Regions from separate parts of the Homo sapiens genome. Here region 2 is linked to region 1. The links are contacts of gene promoters, found by promoter capture Hi-C in blood cells and fetal thymus (Javierre and others, 2016). All regions are on one chromosome and are shown on one strand. The core of a region is centred on a gene start or on the middle of the fragment in contact, and the rest is flanking DNA. Distances in the headings are between cores, read along the strand shown. Region 1 holds the start of RPS25 (ribosomal protein S25). Region 2 holds the start of APOA5 (apolipoprotein A5).

What was found. The method cuts DNA at HindIII sites, captures the fragments that hold promoters and counts their contacts. A CHiCAGO score of 5 or more calls a contact.
Region 2: the fragment with the promoter of APOA5 here is called in contact with the fragment with the promoter of RPS25 in region 1 in 1 of 17 cell types (monocytes); the score reaches 7.1 in monocytes.

Annotation. Positions count from the first base shown.
Region 1 is chr11:119,015,915-119,019,784 of GRCh38, forward strand. It overlaps RPS25 (ribosomal protein S25), which reads right to left and starts at 2,429. Exons shown (of 5, transcript NM_001028.3): 1 at 2,368-2,429; 2 at 2,044-2,139; 3 at 1,448-1,631; 4 at 1-25. The coding sequence starts at 2,370. TRAPPC4 (trafficking protein particle complex subunit 4) reads left to right here and starts at 2,852. Exons shown (of 5, transcript NM_016146.6): 1 at 2,852-3,056; 2 at 3,229-3,403. The coding sequence starts at 2,882. RefSeq lists enhancers at 2,151-2,220, 2,241-2,470, 2,725-3,423 and a silencer at 2,711-2,830. The HindIII fragment of the contact is 1,015 bases long and covers 2,361-3,375 here.
Region 2 is chr11:116,790,262-116,794,131 of GRCh38, forward strand. APOA5 (apolipoprotein A5) reads right to left here and starts at 1,618. Exons shown (of 3, transcript NM_001371904.1): 1 at 1,551-1,618; 2 at 1,325-1,436; 3 at 1-806. The coding sequence starts at 1,599. The HindIII fragment of the contact is 6,000 bases long and covers 1-2,552 here.

The DNA.
Region 1 (3,870 bases), core at 1,179-3,678:
TGCTTTGAAACCAGTTTGATAAGTCCTAGGGGGAGAGAATAGCACGATGAGATGCTTAACAGATGCTACAATAGAAACTAGTAAGGTTTTTGGCTGGGCGCGGTGGCTCATGCTTATAATCCCACTGCTTTGGGAGGTGGAGACGGGCAGATAGCTTGAGGTAAGGAGTTGCACACCAGCCTGGCCAACAAGGTGAAACCCCATCTCTACCAAAAATACAAAAATTAGCTGGGCATGGTGGCACATGCTTGTAATTCCAGCTACTTGGGAAGCTGAGGTGAGGACCACCTGAACCCAGGAATTGGTGGTTGCATTGAGCCAAGACTGCCCCTCCGCACTCCAACCTGGGCAACAGAATGAGACTCTAGTAAGGTTTGTTTTGGCCGGGTGCAGAGGCTCATGCCTGTAATCCCAGCACTTTGGACAGGTGGATCTCTTGAGCCCAGGAGACCAGCCTGGGCAACATGGCAAAACCGCATCTCTATTTAAAGAAAAGGAAAACAAAAAGACAGAGTTCTCTCAGAGGTGCCCAGAATGGTCTTAAAACTCCTTGGCTCAAATGATCCTCCTGCTTTGGCCTCCCAAGTAGCTAGAAATACAAGGGTACCACTGCACCTGGCTCCAGAATTGCTTAATCTGACGTTCGGTAACCGAGAATCCTAGTTTTTAACGATCATCTATCCTTACTTTTCCTTTAAATTAGGGCTCCATTATCTTCCACCCCCCCCCCCTTTCTGAGACAGTCTTTTGCTGTCACTAAGGCTGGAGTGCAGTGGTGTCATCTCGGCTCACTGCCACCTCCATCTCCTGGGTTCAAGGGATCCTCATGCCTCAGCATCCTGAGTAGCTGGGATTACAGACGTGTGCCCCCACGTCCAGCTAACTTTCAGTAGAGCAGGTTTTCACCATATTGGCCAGGCTGGTCTTTAACTCCTGACCTCCGTTGATTCACCCGCCTTGGCCTCCCAAAGTGCTAGAATTATAGACGTTCAGTCACTATAGTTAGCTGAGCCTTATTATTGTGGAATTATGGTAATCAGACCATACTACTGAGTAGACCGTACTAAATTTCTGGTTTTAAAATTTAATACATCAACAAAATATTTACCATAAAGGTTTTAAACATTTTCAAAGTTGTTTCAAAATAGTAATCTAATTATTTCAAAAACGGTTGTCCCTGTAATTCTATGCATCCATTTACTCGAAACATAAAAGATCCTTGGGCTTCACTAAACTGCCACAGGGTCCACGGCACAAAAGTGGCTAAGAACCCTGAGAATTCATCTCAGGATCAGGAGTAAGACGTCAGAATTACATTACTAACAGCCAATGGTCAAGCCACGCTTTTTTTTTTTAATTCTGCTTTTCCAGCAAAACCACTGAAGATGCTTAACATGGTCAAGACAATTTAACCTACAAAAACACACATGTAGGATACACCCCTCACCTTTACTAAGGAGCTCCTGAAGGGCTGCCCTGGCCAGGGAGCCTCGAATCTTCAGTCTCTCAGAGACCACAGCTGGGGTTATAAGTTTATAGTTGGGAACTTCCTTACAGAGTTTATCATAGGTAGCTTTGTCAAACAAGACTAAGTTATTGAGCTTGTCCCGAACTTTGCCTTTGGACCACTTCTGCTCACCAAAACAAAACAGAAACAAGTTAGTATTTCTGGCAGAAGCACCCTTTCCCTCTCGAGTAATCTGCGTCAGAGAAATCTGTTCCACCGTTATCAAGGATAAATTACACATTACTAAAACAAAAACAAAAAAAAAACACCGACACGTTTTTGGCCTTCAAACAGGGGCCGAGCCCCACTAGATCAGTTAAAAATAACACAGCAGGCACAGCGGCAGACACTTCGCACAACAGACCCATTTTCATGATCCTAATGGGAAAAAGAACGAGTGGTGACGGGAAGATAAACTCTCACATTTTGACTCTAGAAATCTACACCTGAAAAACCACTTACTATACAAGTTACCTATTACTAGAGGATTACGAGAGAGTTACCCCTAGTCTCTTTCAGAGAGGTCTTATTTCTACCTTCTTTTTGGCCTTGCCCCCGGATTTGTTCACTGGGTCTTTGTCTTTCTTGGCCGACTTTCCAGCGTCCTTCTTCTTCTTGTCGTCCTTAGGCGGCTGTAGGAGGGCAGCGGGAATGCAACCAGGTCCTCAAATAGCGCCAAAGTCCCCTAATACTGCGCCCTCAGCCCCCGCAAACTCCACCACCAGAGCACATGGGCCAAGCAATAACCGCGCCCGCCCTGCAACCGAGGCCGGCAGGCCAAGGAGCGCTCCCGCCGAAGGCTCTCCCCACTGAGTCCTCAAACCCAAGAACGCCGGCGACTTCACACCCCTGAAGCTTACCATTGCGAAGCTCGGAGAATAGCAGCAGACACCGCAGCCTCGTCAAGATGTCGGACAAAAAGGAAGCGCTGCTCAGAAACGGGCCCAAAAACCACCGTCCGCTGTGAGTACTTCCGGGGCAAAAGGCGGAGCCAGGCAGAAGAAGTCCCACGGCGAAGCGCTCGCCCTCTAGCCTGAGGCGGAAGACAGGAAGTGGATTCTAGTTCCCAAGCCGCACCGCCTAAATACTGCCGGAGTCTGCGCTAGTTGTGACGCATACTATAGCGCTGTTTTCCTGCACTGATAAACGAAAAGCAATCCACCAGGTCTCGGCAGCTAACTTTCCGGCACTACTTATGCCCGAGCGTGTCGCTCCCAGTGCGCAAGTGCAGCAGGTGGCTGCACGGGGGGCGCGGGAGGAGGAGGAGGAGGAGGAGGAGGCTGGGGTGGGGCCGGCGGCAAGTGCTGTGATGCGGTTCCGGGGAGGGGCCGTCGGGTAGAGGCTGAATACCAGTTTCCGAGCGGCAAGGCAGCGATGGCGATTTTTAGTGTGTATGTGGTGAACAAAGCTGGCGGCTTGATTTACCAGTTGGACAGCTACGCGCCACGGGCTGAGGCTGAGAAAACTTTCAGTTATCCGCTGGATCTGCTGCTCAAGCTACACGATGAGCGTGTGTTGGTTGCTTTCGGCCAGCGGGACGGCATCCGAGGTGGGCTAGGCTCGGGCCCGTGGCGGGTGCGGGGGTGGGAGGGCCCCAGTGCTGTAGAAGTGGGCTGGTTGTAGGTGCGGGGTTGGGGGAAAAGGGGTTGTGTCGGGTCCCTTGTCCCCTCGGCGGAATCCCCGGGCTGCACCTTCGCTGACCGTTAGCTTCACCTCTGCAGTGGGTCATGCAGTGCTGGCCATCAATGGCATGGACGTGAATGGCAGGTACACGGCCGACGGGAAAGAGGTGCTGGAGTATCTGGGTAACCCTGCTAATTACCCGGTGTCCATTCGATTTGGCCGGCCCCGCCTCACTTCTAATGAGAAGCTTATGCTGGCCTCCATGTTCCACTCGTAAGTCCCCCGTCTCCTGAACGGCAGCGCTTGTAATTTGTCTACCTTTTCTTAAATCGTCGTTCTGGTGTTATGAAAAACGCAACCGATCCAGATCTAGATTTTAGGTAATAACGGCAGTGGTGTCATCTTTTTTTGCTGGGTGGGGAGGGGCCGCGGAGTTACCCAGGCTGGAGCGCAGTGGCGGGATCTCGGCTCACTGCAGCCTCTGCCTCCCAGGTTCAAGCGATTCTCCTGCCTCAGCCTCCCGAGTAGCTGGGATTACAGGCGCGTGCCACCACGACCAGCTAATTTTTGTATTTTTAGTAGAGAGGGGTTTTGCCATGTTGGCCAGGCTGGTCTCAAACTCCTGACCTCAGGTGATCCACCTGCCTCGGCTTCCCAAAGTGCTGGGATTACAGGAGTGAGCCACCGCGCCCGGCCGAGGTGTCATCTTACTTAAAGTCAACTTCTCTTCTCTGAGCCTT
Region 2 (3,870 bases), core at 368-2,867, 2.2 Mb before region 1:
CACTGTGGCCTGGTGGAGGTGGCGCCAGCTGCTGCTGGACCTCCTCAGTCTCCTGGTCGATGGCGCGAGTGAAGGCAGCTATCTGCAGGTAGGTGTCCTGGCGGAAAGCCTGAAGTCGCTGGCGCACCTCCTCGGAGAGCATCTGGGGGTCCGGGCCGGCCCCTTCCTCAGTCCCAGTGCCTGCAAAGGCTCTGCTGAGCTCTTCGCGCAGCTGGTCCAGGTTCTGCTGGATGCGTGCGTGCAGGGCCTTGGCCTTGAGCGTGAGCTTCCGGGAGAGCACCTGCACGCAGCGACTGAGGCGCGCGGGGCTGGCGGGGGCGTGCGGAGCCACACTGCGGTGCAGCTCCTGCACGTGGCGCCCGATGCCGCTCACCAGGCTCTCGGCGTATGGGTGGAAGAGCTCTTTGAAGCGGCCGGTGTGGTGCACCACGCGGCTCTGCAGTCCCTGCAGCAAAGCCCAAGCCTCGTCCACGCCCCCCAGCAACTGGGCCTTGGTGTCTTCCCCCACCACGCGCAACTGCTCCTGCAGCTCCTGCACGCGCAGGGCCACCTGCTCCATCAGATCCATCGTGTAGGGCTTCAGTTGCTGCCGCAAGCCCTCCAAATTCCAGCCCACCAGCTCGTGCGCCTCTGCCATGTAGGGCTGGAGGCGAGCCTTCACCTCCTCCAACTCCTCCTGCAGCTGCCGCCGCATGCCCACCGGGTCCTGTGGGAGCCGAGGAGCCTCGCTCCCACTCAGAGGCCTCAGCTTTTCCAGGAACTTGTTCATATTGTTGAGGTCTTGCTCAAGGCTGTCTTTCAGGGTCCTGGAGAAGGGGACAGATATCCAGGCCGTCAGACTGCTAGCCTCCATCATCTCCTTTGTCCCCAAGTCATCGCGCACTGATCCTCTGGGGGAACCAAGGACGCAGGGCGTTGGCCCCAGGGTCGAGGGCTCTTGTCCTAGCCCTGGCCAGTAACAACTCACGCACGAAGCACAAACACATTGCCCATACAAATCCAGACCTACAACACTCTCCAAAGAAACATAGATGCGCCACATCATCCTTTGATTCTGGGGACTGCAGCGGGCGTCCTCCCGATTGATCCCAGGTCCCGCGCCTCAGTGAGCAAGGGGGCAACAGCTACGGAGTTGTCAAGGCGGGGGCTGCAGGCAGAGGGCGCTAAAGAGCCCAGGATGGCCGGGATCTGCAGACAGAGCTAGCACCGCTCCTTTCCTCTGTCCCAGCAGCGGCCACAGAGGTTGAGGCAGCAGAGGCAGGTCATCATGGCATGGCCCAGCTGTCTCCTCCCTTCGCCTACACCCCTTCCCCTGGGCACTCACGCGGGCTCGCGAGCCATCTTCTGCTGATGGATCTGCTCCACCCTGCCTTTGTCCCCGCTGGTCTGGCTGAAGTAGTCCCAGAAGCCTTTCCGTGCCTGGGTGGCCGAAAACGCTGTGGAGAGGGACTAGGTAATCAGGGCCTGGGCTCTCCTCCCCCAGGGTGGACAGGGCCCTCTGGCCAGCCTCCACCCACACCCCCACGTTGAAGTCAGGGTCGGAGACCCACCTGAAAGAAGAGCCAGAGCCCAGGTGAGCACGGCAGCCATGCTTGCCATTACCTGCTCTGAGAAGACAGGTGGAGGGAGGCCTGGTTAGGGGAAGAAGGAGACGAAGGGACATGGCGCAGGGGACTTGCCCAGGGGGCCTCTGCAGGGGCAACTGCCCGAAATCCTGTTACCCCTTCCTTGGGCTGGGGAGCACAGAGCTGTTGGGGCTCAAGAGGACTGACCTAGGTGAGTCAAGGAGGCTAGGGTGTCTTCCTCAGACATGGGAAGAGGGCGTGCTCTTGCTACCTCAGTCACATAGCAGGGAGCGTGGTGCTCTAACCCCTTCGCAAAGGTCCCAGACCCCAGGAACAGTTCTCTAGGCCACTTCTACCACCTCTCCCCTGCCCACCTGTCTCCCTCCCTCCCATTTCATGGTGGAAAAACTGAGCCATAATGAGGGCGAAGAGGCAACTCTGCCAAAATGTTCCAAGAGGACGTCTTAGGGGCCACCCCAGGCTCTCCCCTGAGGCCACCTGCAATGCCCTCCCTTAGGACTGTGACCCCCATCCCTCTGCCCCAGCTGCTCACCTGCTCACGTCTGGGCACAGAGAGCAGACATTCTGCTTTATACTCCAGGGCCCTGAGCCTCTGGCACCAATTGCTCTGAGTAAATACCACGTGGAAGTTCAAAAGAAGTTGACCTCAGCTGCCTCCCAGCACTCACCTCCTGCCCTTTCCCTGGCACCCAGAGGGTTAATGAGTGCCCTGGTATCAGGGGCTGCCCCAGTAGAGAAGTGCTTCCCAGGAGCTTTACGGGGGATGGGGCTGAACTCCTCACCCAGTTTCTCCCAAACCCCATGACCTTTAACCTTCCCACTGACCTGCTGGCTGGCCCACCAACAGAGAAGAACCTGTTTGTCTGCCAAGGGCCCCTCTCTTACACAACTACCCAGAGTCACTGTGTCCCAGCCGGCAAGATGGACAGTGTTCACCTACCAGCCAGAACCCGAGCAGCCCCTGAAAGCTTCACTACAGGTTCCGCAGGCATCCTCAGCCAGCATTCATAGGGTTAAAGACCAACCACATCCCTCTTTATGAAACAATCCTGGAACAAGCAAGGGAAGCCAGGCAGGGTGAAGATGAGATGGCAAGAGGCATCTGGGCCAGGGACTCTGAGCCCCAGGAACTGGAGCGAAAGTGAGATTTGCCCCATGAGGAAAAGCTGAACTCCACTCGCAGGGCCTCTGAGGAGAGCAAGCCCAAATGCTCAGATCTTCTCTGATGACACACCCACTCCGTCTACAGTACTCATACACACGTTCACAAGCTCCCGATTCTTGGTCCTAAATGCATCTTGAATCAATCCCCTCTCCTCCATTTCCACTACCATCATTGCACCAGTTGTCTGTCACCTTGATTGCATTCATAGCCTCCAACAGGTCTTTCTACCACACTCCTGCCCATTTAATTCATCCTCCACTGTGGCTCATCCTGACTCATTTCCAGTCTCATCTGCTGCCACATAAAACCACGGCATTCCCTGAGCCTTTATACAGGCTTCCCTCTGCTTGAAATAGCCTATCCCCTGGTGAATATATATTCATTTTTTAGAGTTAGTTTGTATTAGTTAGAATTAGACTTGGCTGCAAGGGACATATATATGTGTGTATATATATACACACACACATGTATATTTTATATTCTTGCATACATATATGTATATATATGTGTGTGTGTATATATACACATATATATATACAAGATACTGCTCTTACCACTCATACTGACATCCCATTGGCCACAAGTTAGTCACATGGCTACACTTAGCTGATATATATGTGTATATATATATGCAAGAGAATAGCTTAAACAAAATGGAGTCTTATTTCCTTCTCATGTAAATGTAGGCCAGCTCGGGCTGCTTTTATCTTGTTGCACTATTATCATCAACAAGACGCTCATATCCAAGTTCCAGCTGCTTCACCTCCAGCTACCAAGTTCACCTCCCAGGGAACAGGAAGGAGGAAAAGGAGAAGGACATGTTCCTTCCTTTTAAAGACACATCCCAGATATTGCCATTACCACTTGTACTGACATCCCATTGGCCACAACTTAGTCACATGGCTACACTTAGCTGAAAAGGAGGCTGGGAAATATAGTTTTTATTTTGGATGGCTGTATGCCTAGCTGAAAAAGGACTCTATTACTCAGGAAGAAGAGAAGAAAGGATTTGAGGGAACAGTAGTAGCCCCTGCTACACAGCTCCAGTATCACTCTGAATGCCTTCTTCGGCCTTCACCTTTTTCTGCTCTGGAGATAAACTGATTCCACATTATTCAC